3 separate regions of the Homo sapiens genome follow, and regions 1 and 2 are each linked to region 3. The links are contacts of gene promoters, found by promoter capture Hi-C in human tissues and cell types (Jung and others, 2019). All regions are on one chromosome and are shown on one strand. Each heading gives the region's core, a stretch centred on a gene start or on the middle of the fragment in contact. The rest is flanking DNA. Distances are from core to core; before and after follow the strand shown. Region 1 overlaps LOC105372310 (a long non-coding RNA gene). Region 2 overlaps LOC105372310 (a long non-coding RNA gene). Region 3 holds the start of ZNF90 (zinc finger protein 90).

Region 1 (4,088 bases), core at 60-2,559, 190 kb after region 3:
CAAAATAAATAAATACATATATAGGCTGGGTACAGTGGCTCTCGCCTGTAATCCCAGCACTTTGGGAGGCTGAGGTGGGAGGATCATGAGGTCAGGAGTTCAAGACCAGCCTGGCCAATATGGTGAAACCCCATCTCTACTAAAAATACAAAAGATAGTTGGGTATGGTGGCACGCATCTGTAGTCCCAGATATTCAGGAGGCTGAGGCAGGAGAATCACTTGAACCTGGGAAATGGAGGTGGCAGTGAGCCAAGATTGTGCCACTGCACACCAGCCTGGGCAACAGAGCAAGACTCCATCTCTCAAAAAAATAAAAAAATAAATAAAAATAAATAAATAATAAAAAAAAGGAAATAGAATGCTTGTGCGGTTTTTTAAAAAGCATACGCTATGCTGCCTACAAGAGATTCATTTAAGCATTGAGTCAAATAGGCTGAAAGTAACAGAATGAAAAAAATGTACATTCCATGAAAATAGTAACCACGATTGAGTGCAGTGGTCATAATTATATTAGACATAATATGCTTTAAGTCAGGTAGTACCATGAGACAAAGATTGACGTTATATTATGTTAAAGTGAGTTGATTTACCAGGAATCTATAACTATAATATTTACTTATCTATATATATATGTGTATATAACATCAGGGCTCCAAAATATATAAAGCAACTATTGACAAAAGTGAAGCAAGACATACATAGCAACATAATTGTAAACATCAAAACCCCATTTGCAATAATAAATAGAAAGTTTAGATAAAAAATAAGAAACAGAAAACCTAGACACCATTATAGACTATATTAATTATTTTGCATATAGATGAATATTTGAGAGTGCATAATTTATAAAGAAAAAAGGTTTAGATGGCTCACAGTTTGGCAAACTGTATAAGTGTGTGCCAGCATCTGCTTCTGGTGAGGATTTCAGGAAGCTTAAAATCATGGTGGAAGGTAAAGAGTAACTGGATATATTATATGGTAAGAGACAGAGCAAGTGTGAGGTGAAGAAGCCAGGTTCTTTTAATGAACCAGCTCTCATTTGAATTAATAGAGTGTAAACTTTTTGGTTACCAAGAGGATGTACCAAGCCATTCATGAAAAATTTGCCCCTATGACCCAAATGTGTCCCACCAGGTCCCACATTCAACATTGAGGATTTATATTGCAGCATGAGGTTTGGAAAACATGGACATCCAAACCATATTATAGACCAACTAGCGTTCGCAGACACACACAAAACTCCCCAGTCAAAACCAAGATAATGCACAATATTCTTATTTTCATCTGGTGTATTTTGTTAGGGCACATAGCAGGTTTTATTAAATTTTAAAATACTGACTGGGTACAGTGGCTCTTGCCTATAATCTTAACACTTTAGGAGACCAAGGTAAGAGGATCCACCAGGAATTATGAATATTTTTCAGATGGAAAAGACATGTTGAGTTAGAAGACACCTCTCAAATTTTTTTTTTTTTTTTTTTTTTTGGAGACGGAGTCTCGCTCTGTTGCCCAGGCTGGAGTGCAGTGCTGTGATCTCGGCTCACTGCAAGCTCCACCTCCCGGGTTCAGGCCATTCTCCTGCCTCAGCCTCCCAAGTAGCTGGGACTATAGGCGTCTGACACCTCACCCGGCTAATTTTTTGTACTTTTAGTAGAGAACAGGGTTTCACCATGTTAGCCAGGATGGTCTCGATCTCCTGACCTCATGATCCTCCCACCTCGGCCTCCCAAAGTGCTGGGATTACAGGCGGAGCCACCGCACCTGGCCACCTTTTTTTTTTTTTTTTGAGATGGAGTTTCGCTCTCGTTGCCCAGGCTGGAGTGCAGTGGCACGATCTTGGCTCACCGCAACCTCGGCCTCACAGGTTCAAGCAATTCTTCTGCCTCAGCCTCCCAAGTAGCTGGGATTACAGGCATGCACCACCACACCAGGCTAATTTTGTATTTTTAGTAGAGATGGGGTTTCTCCATGTTGAGGCTGATCTCAAACTCCTGACCTCAGGTGATCTGCCTGCCTCGGCCTCTGAAAGTACTGGGATTACAGGCATGAGCCACCACGCCCGGCCATACACTGTGTATTTTCTAACAAAAACTGAATTAAACTAGGAATTAAAAGCAAAAGTCAAACTGGAAAGTTCAAAAATATGTATATATAAAACACTTCAATATATTTTTGCTCAGGGGTCAAAAAATTTTATTTTTCAAAAATGTCAATACAACCTACCATTAAAAGATAATACAAAGTTGTTTGTCAGAAATGTTTATTTATTTACAGAAATAGCATTGATTATTGATTAGATATATATCGTTATGGTTTAGGGTATGGGATATAGTGTCCAATGTGGCATTATTAGTTTAATTTATAGCTACTTGTGGCAATAGTGAACAGTTTCAAGACATGAATACATAGTTCAAAGAGGGGAGAAATAACTGCACTTTTATTTTCATCTCTCTGAATTTGATAACCAAAAGGACTTGCATTTTTTAGATAAAAGTTTTTTATTTCCCAAATCTCAAGATCTAAATTCAAAATTTGGAGCTGCACATTTAGGGCCTGAATGGCTGGAGTAGCAGCAGGTGTTACCTGTACATTTGTGAGCACTTTGGCAAGAGGAGGAAGGGGAAAGTGGAGATTCTCATGTCTATATGTCTACTCAATGCACACACGTTACTCTGATTGGGTTTCTGGGCCAAATAGTTTCTGTATCAGTTCCAGTCTGAAGATACAAGAGTCAGTGAAAGAGGTAAAATGATTGATTGCTGCCCTGTGAAGTTTGTAGAAATGTGATCTAGCCTCTCTAGAAGTGACTGCAGAGGACTATGAATGCCAACTAGGCAGAGACACAATTCTGCCTGCATATTTAGGGGACAGCATGCACTTTGCTGCACAACTCTGAGCTGACTGGAAGCCTGAGAGGGAAAGTCTCCTCTAGAGTAAATTCTGGATGTCACCTTATGTGTTTATATCATGTCTGGTAATTCTAGACAGTGTTTGGAAACAATAATTAAATGAAAATTTTTCTCCACCCCAGAGAAACTCCACAATAATAGAATAGAAAGAAACTGTTTTATTACACAATTGAACTTGAATGTGACACGGATCTTCATCAATCTGCTTAAGAGACGGAAAGATGGTCACTATAATTAGGCCACAAGTAGAAGAATTTCCAGCACCATGTCATACATAGTTCATCCTAAATTCACCTGGATACTGAAGAGGCCATCTGTGTATGCTAATTACTTATATTCAATGACAAAAACTTTTCACATCTTCATAATAGGATGTAGTTTAGCAGCTTGAAGCCAGGTGCCTGCTGAAGGTAGGCTTTCACTCTGCTACAAAAATGGTTGAATAGTGTTCTATCTTTTTGGCTACTTACATTTTAGAGCAGTGGCTCTGTACTCCCTGGCACTGGGCTACAGCACTCCTGCTTGCTTTCTCCTGGTTGCTAGTGTCCTCTCTTGGCCTCTACCATCTGCCACTGAGGCACAAACCACAGCTCACATTTTATGTGAATCCTATTTGCCACAGCAGCACTCTAGTGTCACATCAGAGAGTGAGGCCTGAGCTGCAGGAGGAGAGCCTGCAGGCCTCCTGGGTAGAATTACACCTTCACAATCATGAGAATGTGAGCAGTGTTTCAGCGTCAATTTCTACGTATAGAGATGACAAGGAAAAGATAAAGCTGAATTTTCAGCATGAGTCCAGATAGTGATAGCTGCAAAAATTCTCATTGTGACAGCCCACCTTAATCTGACACCATGGGACACTAATAGGGCTTCTGAAACACACACCCAAAGCATTGGAGAGAAAAATGAGATCTTGATCTGAGCAAGATTATTTTCATAGAAAAATATTATAAAGATCTTAAGAAAAAGCTCAGATTAGATATGATTGATCAAGTCAGTCAAAAAATATTCCCCTAAAAGCAATTTCTCTCTAAACACCCAAAGTGCACAGCTACTCTCAGCATGAGAAACATGAGCTTCAGGAAGAAAGAAGGCAGATTTTCAGAAGAATTTTATAAAGTTTTTTTTCCATCTTTGGTGCTCTCTCATCTCCTAGCCAGTGAATGGAGTTCTATATT
Region 2 (3,920 bases), core at 1,410-3,909, 140 kb after region 3:
ACATCTGGGAAGTGAGGAGCGTCTCTGCCTGGCCACCCATCGTCTGAGATGTGGGGAGCGCCTCTGCCCCACCGCCCTGTCTGGGAAGTGAGGAGCGTCTCCGCCCGGCAGCCACCCCGTCCGGGAGGGAGGTGGGGGGGGTCAGCCCCCCGCCCGGCCAGCCGCCCCATCCGGGAGGGAGGTGGGGGTCAGCCCCCCGCCCGGCCAGCCGCCCCGTCCGGGAGGGAGGTGGGGGGGGTCAGCCCCCAGCCCGGCCAGCCACCCCGTCCGGGAGGTGAGGGGCGCCTCTGCCAGGCCACCACCCCGTCTGGGAGGTGTACCCAACAGCTCATTGAGAACGGGCCATGATGACAATGGCGGTTTTGTGGAATAGAAAGGGGGGAAAGGTGAGGAAAAGATTGAGAAATCGGATGGTTGCCGTGTCTGTGTAGAAAGAAGTATACATGGGAGACTTCATTTTGATCTGTACTAAGAAAAATTCTTCTGCCTTGGGATTCTGTTGATCTCTTGACCTTACCCCCAACCCTGTGCTCTCTGAAACATGTGCTGTGTCCACTCAGGGTTAAATGGATTAAGGGTGGTGCAAGATGTGCTTTGTTAAACAGATGCTTGAAGGCAGCATGCTCGTTAAGAGTCATCACCACTCCCTAATCTCAAGTACCCAGGGACACAAACACTGCGGAAGGCCGCAGGGTCCTCTGCCTAGGAAAACCAGAGACCTTTGTTCACTTGTTTATCTGCTGACCTTCCCTCCACTATTGTCCTATGACCCTGCCAAATCCCCCTCTGCGAGAAACACCCAAGAATGATCAATAAAAAAAATAAATTAAAAAAAAAAAGAAAAAAAATCCCCAGGTGAGAGAGAGTGCAATGTCAGTGAATGGACAGATTTTTGCTACAGATAGTTGACCAGGTGGGGCTGTACTCTGATTTATTTCTGTGTGCATGCAGGCAGATGAGATTATGAAAAGGAGGGCCAGAACCCTAGGCTGGTGGAGAAAACAGGTTGCTGCTGCAGATTCGATATCCGGGGATGGGAATATGCAAGGAAACTTGTAGATACTTTTGGCTTTTTGGCTAGAAGTGCTTGGACCAAAAATGTCATGGTGAAGTCACTGAGGGTGGTGCCTAGTCCTGGGAGGAGTGTGGACATGTCAATGTCTAGTGTGTGTGTTTGGGAGTATGTGGGAATCCTGTGGTGGCAGCTGCAAGAAAAGGGGATGTGTCATCAGAGCTCCTTTCCTGTAAGTTTTCAGTCCTCTGTCACCCTGGGAGAAGACCTGGAATCACAGGACAATGGGCAGTGTGACAATCTGTGTACAGGAGAGCAGAATCTCCCATTCCCAAACACCCAGAGTTTTATTCCAGGCCAGGCCTCCATGATATCTTCTTTCTGGCACCAAATCTGTAGCATTTGCTGAACATCAAACAATTCTCCAACACCAACTTATTGTATAACATTTGATTTCTAACACTACCCAGAGTCAGCACAGACCCTGATTCAGGGCTCGGTCCCACAACATTGTTCTCACTGCAGATGCCAGTCATAAATCCCATGGGCCCATCTATGGTTCTGAGCTACTGTTTAAAAACTGGGGACTCCCATAACTTCCCTGAAGCTCAGTAATTTGGTAGAGCTACTCACAGAACTCAGCAAAACACTGTAGTTATGCTTACTGGTTTAATATATAAGATGCAGCCCAGGAAAAGCCAAGTGGAAGAAATGCATAGAACAAAGAAAAGAGATGAGGAAAGATGAAACACATAGATAATTATGAAAAATATTTGTGATTAATAAAATTCTCCTTCCTTTGTGTGCTTCAGGAACAGTTTATGGAAAGAAACACTCTTCCCGTTATGATTAAGATGATGCTCCCTTTTCTTGCCTATCACACAGCCAGACATACACTCTGCACATTTTCTCCTTTTTCTCATTAAAAAAAAAACAAAAAACCAGCTGAATTTGCCTTCAGCAGTCAAAATCAATTATGATTTTTTTTTTTTTTGAGATGGAGTGTCACTCTGTCACCCAGGCTGGAGTGTAGTGGGGCCATCTCGGCTCACTTCAGCTTTCACCTCCAGGGCTCAAGCAATTTTCCTACCTCAGCCTCCCAAGTATCTGGGATTACAGGCACCTGCCACAACGCCCAGCTAATTTTTGTATTTTTAGTAGACAGGGTTTCACCATGTTGGCCAGGCTGGTCTTGAACTCCTGACCTCTGGTGATCCGCCTGCCTCAGCCTCCCAAAGTGCTGGGATTGCAGACTTGAGCCACCACACCCAGCCTAAAATAAAATATTTCTTAATCAAATTTTACTTAAGTTTATCTTCTCTCAGGCTCCTGAAATTCAAGCTACCCTCAGTCTGAGTCAACATACAACCCCATTTTATGTCCCTCCTAAGAACATGCTGATTTCAGGGTAAGCCATTCTCTGATCTAAAATCTGACTTTTTCACCCTCCATTTGCTGTTCCTCTCCCACCTCCTTTCTAATCTTGTTTGCTCTTCCCTAGAAAAGAAAGCCCTTTTCTGCCTATATTTTTGCAAGCCATAAAGATATTATAGTTATTTGGTGCTTCCTTTTGTTGCAATACTTTTTTGGAATTGGTTTTTTACCTGCCTCTTGAGAATATGCCTTTAAGGGTGTCAGTACCACATGTTTACCTGCAAGCATGACATCAACTGGCAGAAAAGACAGAAAAAGTCCATCCATTTCTGTCCCTTAAAGCAGAAGGTATTTGGGAACAATGTGCTGCTCCATAAAGATAAAAATATGTTTCTTCTTCCCTGTCCTCAGGTGCCCTCCCCTGCCACAGACACCAGCAATTTCTGCTACAGAACCTGCAGAGAAAAAGAGAAGAAATTAAAATGCTGGGCCCTTTTTCTAAATCCTGGAAATTAGTATTAAATCCTTAGTACCAGCTCCCAGGGTGTTATGAGGATTAAATTATATAATGTATTATGCCCAGCAGAGTTCTCTGTATCACAATCTTGAGCACATAGTACCTGCTTCATACAGTAATACAAATATACACCACTCTGACCTGTCCATACCAAGCCAAAACAGAACAGGCCCTGTGGCTACCCTTTAGTCCAAAAGTGGAACTTAATTCTCATGAATATATTTTGAAGGCCTCATACCTGATTCTGGCCTCACCTTAGAGTCACATGAGGCCCTTCATTAAAACAACATGGATGTTTTCAACCAGAATAATAAACAGAAGCTGTGGTGAGGGTACAAGAGATTTCTGCATATTGGCCATGTGATCCTAATGAGAAGCCTGGGCTGATAACCACTAAGCTAAGCATTGCCTCTCAAGCTTTAATGAGCTTATAATTCACTTGGTAATTCTGGCCACACTTTAAGTAATGTGATTCTGCAGGTTTGAAAAGGGTCTGTGAATCAGTGTTTTAAACAAGTCCCCTGTCAATGCTGATGTTACTCCTCCTTGGCTCATTATTAACATTAGTTAGAAAAGCAGGCAAACCACAGGGTCCCTTACACTTAGCACTGTTGTCACAATCAGATAACTCTGGTACAAATAAGGACAACTCATCTCCATCCTAAAGTTTTATATTCTTTGCTGGCTCTTTAAAGTTTACAGAAGAAACAGAAGGTAATTACCAGGATTTAGAAAAAGAGCCAAGCATTTTAATTTCTTGTTTTTCTGTCATCAAAAATTTTTAAAAATTGTATAGAATAAAAGCTAAGTATAGACAGATGAATGAGACATAAAAAGGAAGAGGTTAGTTTAGAGAAAATTTTATTCTGTTTGTATTTACTTTTTTTTGACTTACGGAGCAACTACTGGATCTGCGGGAATAAGAAACAAGTTGCTAAATAGAATGTCTCTGCATCCAATGGTTTTCATAGAAAATTAAAAAACGGCTGGGTGCGGTGGCTCATGCTTGTAATCCCA
Region 3 (4,066 bases), core at 1,556-4,055:
GTGAAACCCCGCCTCTACTAGAGAAGTACAAAAATTAGCTGGGCGTGGCGGTGCATGCCTGTAATCCCAGCTACTCGGGAGGCTGAGGCAGGAGAATCACTTGAACCTGGGAGGCAGAGGTTGCAGTGAGCTGAGACTCAGCCACTGCACTCAAGCCTGGTGACCCGAGACTGAGCCACTGTACTCCAGCCTGGTGACAGAGCTAGACTCCGTGTCAAAAAAAATAAATTAATTAATACAGGAAAACAATGATAATGGTAGTGTGTACCAGAATTCATGTATCTTCCCAGTATTGTTTTCCCCATACCTCTTTATTCCCAATTAACCATTTGTTTTGTTGTCATTGGGGCATCCAGGTAGTAAGACCATTTGCTACTGAGCAAGAGTTGGTATACAAGTGACAAATCCTTCTTCCTTCCTTTCGAAGAGCTCAGAGGATGTCTACTAGTTCAGTTAACTGGCTGCTCCCACCCCTTTCTTCATCAGAAATGGTTATGTTTTTCGGTTGTTTGTTTTTGAGATGGAGTCTCAGTCTGTCACATAGGCTGGAGTGCAGTGGTGAGACCTCAGCTCATTGCAACCTCTGCCTCCTGGGATTCCAGTGATTCTCCTGCCTCAGCCCCCTGAGTAGCTGGGATTATAGATGCATGCCACCACACCTGGCTAGTTTTTGTATTTTTAGTAGAGATGGGGTTTCATCATGTTGGCCAGCCTGGTCTCAAACTTCTGACCTCGTGATCCACACATCTTGGCCTCCTGTGGATTTTGAGGGAACTCGTGACCTAAATCATAACAGGAAATTTAGGCCTCATAAAGACATCATGGTTAAAGCAGAGGTGTTTTGTTTCCAGTAAAGTCCAATAGCAAGCTAACAATTGTGCACAGGTGAGGAGAGCTGTCACGAAGCTTTGGCGCAGTCTGGGACCCTAGCTCTTTTGTAATGAGTTGTTTGGCACGAGGCTTAGTCATGAGGACCCTTCGCGACTGAGCTGAAGAAACACAAAAAGGTCACTTGTTTTTGGGATTGTCTGTTGTTTTTCAAGAACGAATGTATAGGAATAGATTGAAATACAGATTTCTCTGAAACAGCGCTGGATGAACGCCTCTAGGGGCTCACACAACCTGTTCCCGGACTTGGTGACCATTGTTTGTGTCCACGTTCAATTAGCACAAATTTATTATTTAACTTTGACTCCACACCAGACTATGGAGGATTCACCACCAGACCGGAAAGCAACAGGATGGGCTCCAGAGTTGGCCACCCATCGGTGCACAGACCAGGAGAGGTATAATGACGCTTCTGCGCGGTCTGGGAACCTAGCTCTTTTTGTAACGAGTTGTTCAGCATGAGGCCTAGTCACCAGGGCCCTTCATGACTGGTCTCAAGGAACACAGAAAGGTCAACTTGTTTTTGTGATTGTCTATTGTTTTTCTTTTTCTTTCTTTCTTTTTTTTTTTTTTTTTTGAGACGGAGTCTCGCTCTGTCGCCCAGGCTGGAGTGCAGTGGCGCGATCTCGGCTCACTCCAAGTTCCGCCTCCCAGGTTCACACCATTCTCCTGCCTCAGCTTCCCGACTAGCTGGGACTACAGGCGCCTGCCACCAGGCCTGGCTAATTTTTTGTATTTCTAGTAGAGACGGGGTTTCAGCGTGTTAGCCAGCATGGTCTTGATCTCCTGACCTCGTGACCCGCCCGCCTCAGCCTCCCAAAGTGCTGAGATTACAGGCGTGAGCCACCGCGCCCGGCCTTGTCTATTGTTTTTCAATAACGAATGTATAGGAATAGATTGAATAGATTGACATAGAGATTTCTCTAAAATAGCACTGGATGAACGCCTCAAGGGGCTCACACAACCTCTTCCAGGACTTGGTGACCATTGTTTGTGTCCACGTTCAATTGAGTTCAAATTAAATATTTAACTTTTCCTCCACAAATTCCCCTGTCTTGATGAATTGGTTTTGTCTGGGCAAAGGGCAAGGTAAACTCCTTGGGCGGTTACACAACCTCCACCTCCTAGGTTCAAGAGATTCTCCTGCCTCAGCCTTCGGTGTAGCTGGGACTACAGGTGTGCACCAGCACGCCCAGGTAAGGTTTTGTATTTTTAGTAGAAATGGGGTTTCACCGTGTTGGCCAGGGTGGTCTTGAACTCCTGACCTCAAGTGATTCGCCCTCTTTGGCTTCCCAAAGTGCTGGAATTACAGGCGTGAGCCACCGCGCCTGGCCCTAAATGATTTCCTTTCTGTCTCCTATAACAGTTTGAAATTACTTAAAAGTTGTTTCAAATTGAAAAAATAAAAAGAATGTAGATAAAAATAAAATATAAAAAGTTAAAAAAATTACATTAGATTACAAAATATATATGATGTATATGTAAGTCTCGAGAGGTCAAAAATGACAAATTTGATTTACTTACAAGGTTTTATTAAAATTAGCTTTCGTATTGATAATACACTATTACCAAAGTAAAAGTTTTCTCTTGAACAAAAATTTTTTGTATTATTAATATGACAGCCAAATACTTCTGTTCACCTTTTGAATACATTCAAAAAGAGAAAGAGTAAAAAAGAATTTTCCCATGCTCTCCGGTGGGCCTGGCTCAGCTCAAGGAGGAAGCCCGGCCTGAAAAGGCTGCAGCTGAGGCTGTGACTCTTTCTTCACTCAGCCCAGCATGTGATCACATCTTCTGTCACTCAGGGACTGAGGAGGCGGGGCCTTAAGCATTATCCAATCAGGGACGCTGGGTTGGAAACCGTCCAATCATGCAGGCAGCTGGAGCGAAGAGGAAGGCTTTCGGGTTTGGCGCGGCCATTTGTCTCTTGCTGCAGCTGGTGCTCCAAATCTGGTCTTAGCTGCTTCGTGTCTTCTTCTCCAGCCTCTGTGGCCCTGTGACCTGCAGGTATTGGGAGATCCACAGCTGAGGGACCCCCGGAAGCCTAGAAATGGTGAGAGTGCCTTTCCAGCATTCCGAGAGAGGGGAGGGACTGGTTGGAACCGATGGGAAGTGGCTGTGGCGGGACTTAGGCCTCCCCGCAGTCAGCTCCACAATCTGCGACCGACTTCTCCTTGCCCAGTTCGGCCTCAGTCCCCTTCAGCCATAAGATGGCAACAGCGCCGACAGCCGGGCCCCGCGGCGTCCTGTCTCTTCCCTGCCCTGGCCTGGAGCCCTCTCTGGGCAGCTCTGCACCCACAGCGCTGCGTCTCTCCCAGATTGTGCAGGGAGCACGGGAGGGTTCTCGGGGGAGAATCCTGACTCGGGGTGCAGGTTCATGAATGGGAAGAGCTTTGGTCCATGGGGTTGACAGTTTCTCTTTTCTCCTATTAAAAACTTATGGGGCCGGTCGCTGTGGTTCATGCCTGTAATCCCAGCATTTTGGGAGGTCGAGGCGAGCGGATCACTTGAGGTAAAGGGTTGTTAGTACAACGTAGTTCTTCTTCAAAGACGCAACTTCCTGGTCATAAGTTGGAAAAGTTGTAAATCACCCCTACCCCTTCTTCTCCCTTCTCCTTTTCTCACAAATCGCGCATTACCCGATTTGGAAAAAGCTTGAGTGTAAGCCAACCGGGATCAGCTTAGATTGTGCGGTCTGACCCCAGCCAATGGAGGGAAAACAAAAACAGAACTGCATTAGGGCTAATAACCCCTTCCCGGCCAGGCGCGGTGGCTCCTGCCTGTAATTTCAGCACTTTGGGGCGCCGAGGCGGGCGGATCACGTGGTCAAATTTCTAGACCAGCCTATCCAACGTGGTGAAACCTCTCTCTACTAAAAATACAAAAATTAGCCTGGAGTGGTGCCAAGCGCCTGTAATCCCAGCAACTTGGGAGGCTGAGGCCCGAGAATTGCTTGAACTCGGGAGGCAGAGGTTGCAGTGAGCTGAGATCCCTCCATCGCGCTCCAGCATGCGCGACAGAGGGAGAGTCCTCAAAAAAAAAAAAAAAAAAAAAAGTAAGCATCTTAAAATTTCCATCCTTTATGTAAACACTGTGTTTTAGTAACTTCACTGTATTTTCCAACACTTAGTTTCAAAAACCCAGTGAATAACTCTGGCATGGAAATTAAAGCTTGAAC

What was found. The method cuts DNA at HindIII sites, captures the fragments that hold promoters and counts their contacts. A contact is called where the count stands out against the background at its distance.
Region 1: a fragment that was not itself captured here is called in contact with the fragment with the promoter of ZNF90 in region 3 in 1 of the 25 tissues and cell types used here (bladder).
Region 2: a fragment that was not itself captured here is called in contact with the fragment with the promoter of ZNF90 in region 3 in 1 of the 25 tissues and cell types used here (mesenchymal stem cells).

The regions. Positions count from the first base shown.
Region 1 is chr19:20,264,268-20,268,355 of GRCh38, forward strand. All of the region lies in intron 1 of LOC105372310 (a long non-coding RNA gene), which reads right to left. It also overlaps the pseudogene BNIP3P18. Among named protein-coding and RNA genes, the nearest start is that of ZNF486, 99 kb to the left of the region's middle. The HindIII fragment of the contact is 4,763 bases long and covers 1-3,691 here.
Region 2 is chr19:20,214,476-20,218,395 of GRCh38, forward strand. It overlaps LOC105372310 (a long non-coding RNA gene), which reads right to left. Exons shown (of 7, transcript XR_007067164.1): 5 at 2,665-3,920. Among named protein-coding and RNA genes, the nearest start is that of ZNF486, 49 kb to the left of the region's middle. The HindIII fragment of the contact is 5,893 bases long and covers 1-3,920 here.
Region 3 is chr19:20,075,195-20,079,260 of GRCh38, forward strand. It overlaps ZNF90 (zinc finger protein 90), which reads left to right and starts at 2,806. Exons shown (of 4, transcript NM_007138.2): 1 at 2,806-2,941. The coding sequence starts at 2,939. RefSeq lists an enhancer at 2,749-3,228. The HindIII fragment of the contact is 4,387 bases long and covers 1-3,800 here.